Linked DNA regions of Homo sapiens: region 1 is linked to region 2. Evidence: promoter capture Hi-C in 16 types of primary human blood cells and fetal thymus (Javierre and others, 2016). All regions are on one chromosome and are shown on one strand. The core of a region is centred on a gene start or on the middle of the fragment in contact, and the rest is flanking DNA. Distances in the headings are between cores, read along the strand shown. Region 1 has its middle 2.5 kb from the start of PYROXD1. Region 2 holds the start of ERGIC2 (ERGIC and golgi 2).

Region 1 (3,406 bases), core at 855-3,354, 7.9 Mb after region 2:
TCCCTAGGAGTTGTTTTGTAATGGTAAGGTATTATCTCTCAAATGGTTCACTCTAAAACTGGTAATTACCCGAGTCCCTTTAATTCTTTAAACACTGAGAATAACCATTATATATTAACAGGAAAGCCTACCACGTATCTAATTACAGGCATTTACTGATACCTGTAAAAATCATTGTTCTTTGATTTACCAAGTTAAATGGTAAGCGGTTTAATAAACGTGTCTAATTCCTGTTACTAGTATAGCAACCAAACAAAGCATTCATTTCTAGGAGGAGGAAATACATTCCTTAAGCCCATTTAGATCTCATCTTGCTTCAGCTTATTTTCACATTATCTCACTCACACTGTGTTCCATTCAGGCCACACTACACTTCCAGATCCCAGGATATGCCATTTTCTTTCTGAGCATTTGCACATATCTTTTTCCCAACTACTTTTCCCTGGCTAACTCATCAACCTTTGGTTTCATCAAGCCATTGCTTCCCCTTTAAGATACTTTATCTAACATCCTCAAGACAGCTAGGTGTCCTCTCCGTGTGTTCTTATAGCACTTTGTCATCCTCTAAATTTAGACTTATCCCACTTTATTGTAAATTCTTACTGCCTGACCCCACCACCACCATAAACTGCTTACATAATCTCAGGGATTATTTTTGTCTCCCTTTGTATCTCCAATGTTTAGTAGGGAGTATGTATTCAACAAAAATGTGCTCAACGAAATAGGAAGTTGGTGGAGCATGAAACTCCCCTGAAGTCCTTCTAAAGATTTTTAGATTCATTGTCCAGGGTCAGGATCCTCTTGTATATTGTGACAGGGGTTTCCTCTTTATGGAAGTCGGAAGGAAGAATGGAGTGGAATTTAAGCTCCCAGGGGAAACGGAAGGAGATCATCGTCTGTGGGAGGGGAAGCAAAGTAGTAGGAGGCTCCTCAAATGTAAAGGGGTAATGACTCCACACTCTCCTTTTTTCTTCCCCTTGTGAAGGCTGGCTTTTTTGTCAAAGGTGATGTAGGGATAAGACCTAGCTGCCTGCCACACTGGCATGAATATCCAACTTTTAGAAATGTCTAAGGGTTAAAGAACTTTCAGTGCATCTCACCTTAATGTTGATTAAATTAGATACATATACTGGATGTAAAGTGGGTTAAAAGTAAGATGTAGGTAACTTGAAACATGTTATCCACAGGGAGGGCAGCAATAGGTACAGGTTAGGAGAAAGGGCAACTGCAAAGAAAACTGGGCACCTAGAAATAAGGGAGGCCCAATGCCAGGAAGCAGCAGAGAAGCAGAAAAGACAGAACTTCAGCTCCCCTTTAGCTCTGGTCAGCAAGCTTAGGAGTGACCTGGTGACTGTTTCTGAGGAGTCAAAGAAATACCAGTGTATTGCTAAATATTATGGTGTATGTTTATGGGTGGAAAAGAAAAGCAGGACTTGGCAAAGAAAGGTTCAGAGAAGAAGTGGAATTTATATTGAATCTCAAAGGCCCATAGCATTTGGATAGGTTCAGAAGAAGATGTGGCAAGTCATGTGGGAAATATCCCAAGAACCAAAGGCTTAGCAGCAGGAATGAGCATGGGAAATACAGGAGATGGTAAAAGGGAAGAAAGAAAGAAAAGTGGTTGGGGAGTTCAAGATTCATGTGGAAAAACTGAAGGAGATAAAGCTATCTTCTTCTATTTCTCTCCATAATGTTGTTACATCTGATTCCCATACCCACCTAATCTCTTGAAGGCCATCCCCAACTTTCAAACTACCATCAAAATCTAGTCTTCCATTCTTCTTCAAGTTGATATCAGAAATGCCTAGAATAGGAGTATTGAGGTTAATTTTCAACTGCAAAAATTGGGAATGAATAATGACATTTCATAGTTGGTGATTAATAGCTTTTGAGTCAGATGACCTAGGTTCAAATGTGGCACCAGCATTTCTTTGTTGTGTGACCATTCAGTGAGTTATTTACCTCATCTGAACCCTAGTTTCCTCATTGGCAAGACGGGTATAAGATCTACTTTGTAGAGTTGTTTTGATGCATGTGTGAGGCAACATATTTAAACTTCCTAGCATAGTGCGTGCCTCTTAGTAGGATTAATGGTTAAGTTGCCTGCCTGTGCCCTGTTGAATAGACTATGTTTCTCTGTCTAAAGGATTTTATCTATGATCATAACCTTAACAAGCCTATTATGCTTTTAACTCCCAAATGTCTATCTCTCATGCAATCTACTCTGAATCTTCAAGCCTGAAATTTCTGAAACATCTTGGATATCTTCTCATTTTTATCTTGGTTTTTGCCAATTCGCTGTAAGTACAGCCTGGATTCATCTTGCACTCGAAACCTCTTCTTTGTTTTGTTAGTTCATATAACTGATTTACTGAACAAGCTGGACTTTATAGGGAAGAAATTAAAGCAAACATTTTTATTTCTCAACGCTTTTCCTGTGAATGTATTTTTCTCCTCTAAATTCTTATTAATTTAGCTTATCTGATCATTCTCAGGTAATAAAAAGTCTGGTACTACCTATTATCAAAACTCCAGACACGCATCCAATTAAAGCCTCACCTAACTACAGGCAACGCAAATTGATTTCTTGTTGCTTTTTTGCTCCAGCTCTTCTCCTAACTAAGAGCTGATGTTTTCAGGGGCTTTAAGATTGGAGGGTGGGTAAGGAGTAAGGAGAGGAAAGAGCCTCACTGTTGTTCCTGTATGAGCATATATATGCAAACCTACCCCCAAAGGCTGAGAGAGCTGAGAGGCCAAAGAAAAACTGACAAATCCAGTTTCTCAGAAAGAGGTATTTAATAGGGACTTACACACAGAAATGATGATTCTGTTACAGTGCATCCCCACACCTGCCCTCCAGAAATTATGTAAGCTTTTAGGATAAAAGATGTACAGCTGATCATGTCTCAGACTTTCTTGCAAAACTCATGAACACTGGGGAGTCTAGATAAGAATCTTAATGAGAGAATTATCTAAGTTACAAGCTTTGTTTCTTTTGAAGGGTTATCTATGCTATGGGCATTGTTTAAGGACCTTGCTGCAGAACACCTTAGTATGCAGGAATCCAACATCAGTCATCATGGCCGTGGTGTCATTCTTGCCATACCGCAGGCTGTCTTCCTATATCTATGAATCAGTGGTGTGGTACAACTGTGAATCTGTGAGAGCTGATTGTTAAAATTTTAGGATTTGTGTGAGCTGATTGTTAACACAGCTATTGTTAAACACTAAATTGTATAAACATAATCAAATAAGTTATATTAAGACAAAGGTAATAAATATTCAAAACTTCTTATTTCCTAACTCTTTTGCTATTATCTCTACTCTTGAGGTTATTTACATCTATTGTATCTACAGGTAAAAATATAATGGTGGGCTACTATACATTTCTTCCTACTGCCTCATT
Region 2 (3,133 bases), core at 180-2,679:
AAGCAAGAGCCCATATTCACAAAGAAGGAAGAGTTGCTGATGCCTTTACGGCAAAGATTAAAAAAAGGCATTTTAGATGTATATTAATTTACTTAATCCTCGTAACAACTCTGAGATATTATCATGCCCATTTTACAGATGAGCAAATGGAGACACAAAGAGATGAAATAATGTGGTCAAGGTTACATGCTAGTAAGTTGCTGATCTGGAATTCTAACCCAGGAAGTCCTGTCTCCAGTGTCTATGATTTCACCCACTACACTATACTTCTTAAGCATGTCAAGAAAGTGAGAACTTTAAATTGATTTAATTAGACTAACTCTGAAAGTCTGAAAATAAAATTGATTCATTGGAAACTTTTCATCAGTCCTTATTTTGGGGGATATTCAATTTAGTGAAATTTAGTATTTCAGTAAAGGTTAATTCACTACATAAAACAATGTGATTTTTTTCCTTTGAGGCACAGTTTAGTATTGTGATCAAGATTTCCCTGACTCTCCCAGCGGTCTGAATTTGGGTAAATCACTTCACTACCCCTTGACTCAAATTCCGTATTTATAAAACAGGTAAATACTGGTATTATCTTCTAAGAGTGTTGTGAGGATACGCAGATTTTTTAAAAAAGCAGTTAAAGCCTTTAAACAGTAATTATAAGCAGTTGTCATAATTATGCCGTTGTTAGACTTCTAGGTCAATGAATCAGAAAATTTAAATCTCAATGTTTGATTATAAAATCTGGTAACAGATGGGTGAAAAGGAACCTGGAATGGGTTTACTCTCCAGGAGTTCACATTTAACTTTTCTTTCCGAAGTTCCGTCTATTAACTCCTGTTCTATGAAGTGGTAGAAAAAGATGAGGTATTAATTTTCTTTCTTAACAAATATTTGAAGGCATAGTTGGTGTTGGCGAAGGGAGATGAGGAAGACATATGTGCTTTCTTATGATATTAAAACCTGGAAGACAATAAAAACGCTGATCAAATAATAAAAAGCGTTACCTATGGCGGAAAAGGAAGCTCAAATGTTCTTGTCAGGGGAAAACGACACAAAAACTGAAAGAGGGAAACAAAACAATTGCACAGGTGATATGCATTAGGGTTGTTAGGGATAATTTCTGCGCCCAAGGCTCTTATTAGTAATGAAATACGGTGTGAGGAGCTGAGATTCGTTCTGCAGTCTCAGTGTTAGTCGGAAAGTAACCCCTCCCTTCCCATAGAAACAGAACCGGACTGGCGGCGCGATTACACCTAAAACAAGTTGCAACCTCATTTCCCTGTAGGCACGCCTCTTTTATCTTAACCACGCCTCTTCATTCCCTAAGCACGTCGTAAGCAAAGGGAATATCGCGAGATCTGTACATTGTCTCTTTTCTGACGTTTTCAGCTGTGATAGTCGCTTTTGTTCTCGCGATATTTCCGGGTACGCGGGAGCCCCGGCGACCCGGGCTTCTGTGAAACATGGCGGTAGGCTGGGACCATAACACAAGGTAAAATACTGAAACACCGCTGGGTGCTGTTCCCTCGGTTGTTCCAGGGCTGTTTAGGGCGTAAATGCAATTGAGGGAACTGGGAGCCTGTCATGGGCTTGGCTTCCTGTCTTCATTGATCTCTAGAGAGCCGGTCGGACGGAGAAGCCGCTCCACCTCCCACGGGGGCGTTACTGGCAGGACCCTAGGCAACGATGCTACTGGGAGCTTCCCTTTGCCAGGTCCGGGTGCTTGTGTGCTATCCTGCAACTCGAAGGAGTTCAGGTGCTTCCTCGATCGCACCTGATTCTGACCCTTTGCTTGTCACAGTGCCCGGTTCCCAGGTGGTTTCTCCAGTCCGCAGGCGAGTAGGATCCCAATCGGTCGAGTCCCAGTCCTCCCGGATGTCAGACTCCCTACCCCCATTCAGACAAATGCCACATTCGTGGCAGCACGTTGCCCTCTGTCTCTTTAAGAGTCTTGGCCTTGCCCGGAAGGAGTTTCGCACAGTGCTTCGGAAAATGAGAAGGGGGCGGGGGAGGGCGAGATGCTGAGAGACAGGTTCGACTGTCACTACTTTTCCTCGGCGCAGGAAACCTTCCGAAGGCAACGTGTCAACTCGTGGTGGAGAATAGCCTTGTTTATCTGTAGTATATAGAGTTGACAGGTCATTGTTTGAGAAAACACGTTTAAATAACTTTTATATTTTAGTGCCCCCGAGACTTAAAGACAAAGTGGCATAATAGCTGTTAAAATGTTGCCAGACTGGTTTTCAGAAGCAATGAAAGTTACAGTTAAAAACAGGATTTATTCATTTGAAGTTGTAATTCAGTATTTCAGTTAATTGCCTAGCCTGATACATTGGACTCCAGTATACAGCAATTATAAAGAATGAGCCTGGCTTGTTCACTGAAAAAAGACATGGTTATTTACCTAATTTGTTTGTTGATATCTTTAAGTTGTTGTAATTATGCCAGTTCTAGTGGAAAACATGAGGAAAAAAATTCTGATTTTTTGGGAGGGTGGGGGTTGGCGGTGCAGGGATGGATAGAGAGAGGAGGATTTTTTTTTTTTTTTTAAATGATGGTGAACTTTAGTATACAGTTGCGTGTTATAATGGCTTCCTGGTACAAATCATAAAAATATATCAAGTTTGAAAGATCTCTCAAAGGAAATCAGGCCTAGTCTGGAACAACGAGAGTTAGGGAAACAACAACAACCACCCACACATTTTCTTTCTTTGGGGATTGATGATTTAAGTGAAAGAAATGGCTATTTTTTTTTTCTTTACCAGAAGTTACTTTTAGGCAGTCAGTGCCTGCTAAAAATCCTATTTAATAGTTTCCCAATATTTATTGTAATTCTGCCTCTTAATGTCATAGTGGTCAAATTATTTAACCTCTCTGTGCCTTAGTTCCTTCATCGGCCAAATGAAATAATGATACTTAACTCATAGGAAGGTTGTGAGGATTGAATGTGTTGAAACATACAAAGCATTTAGAACAATACCTGGCACACAGTAAACACTCAATGCATGTTAGCTCTTGTTATTTTTTATTTTCATTTTCTAACATCTGTAGTTACAAATGTTGCCTTGTTACTTAGTCAAAATGTAGACTGAAGAAGATATTGTTTAAAATAATATCTTTCTGAACTCCAGATTGATTA

What was found. Contacts are between HindIII fragments. The CHiCAGO score rates a contact against its expected background, and 5 or more counts as called.
Region 1: a fragment that was not itself captured here is called in contact with the fragment with the promoter of ERGIC2 in region 2 in 1 of 17 cell types (total B cells); the score reaches 8.2 in total B cells.

What each region holds. Positions count from the first base shown.
Region 1 is chr12:21,433,403-21,436,808 of GRCh38, reverse strand. No RefSeq gene overlaps it. Among named protein-coding and RNA genes, the nearest start is that of PYROXD1, 2.5 kb to the left of the region's middle. The HindIII fragment of the contact is 1,540 bases long and covers 1,335-2,874 here.
Region 2 is chr12:29,379,468-29,382,600 of GRCh38, reverse strand. ERGIC2 (ERGIC and golgi 2) reads left to right here and starts at 1,429. Exons shown (of 14, transcript NM_016570.3): 1 at 1,429-1,486. RefSeq lists an enhancer at 1,697-1,866. The HindIII fragment of the contact is 7,270 bases long and covers 1-3,133 here.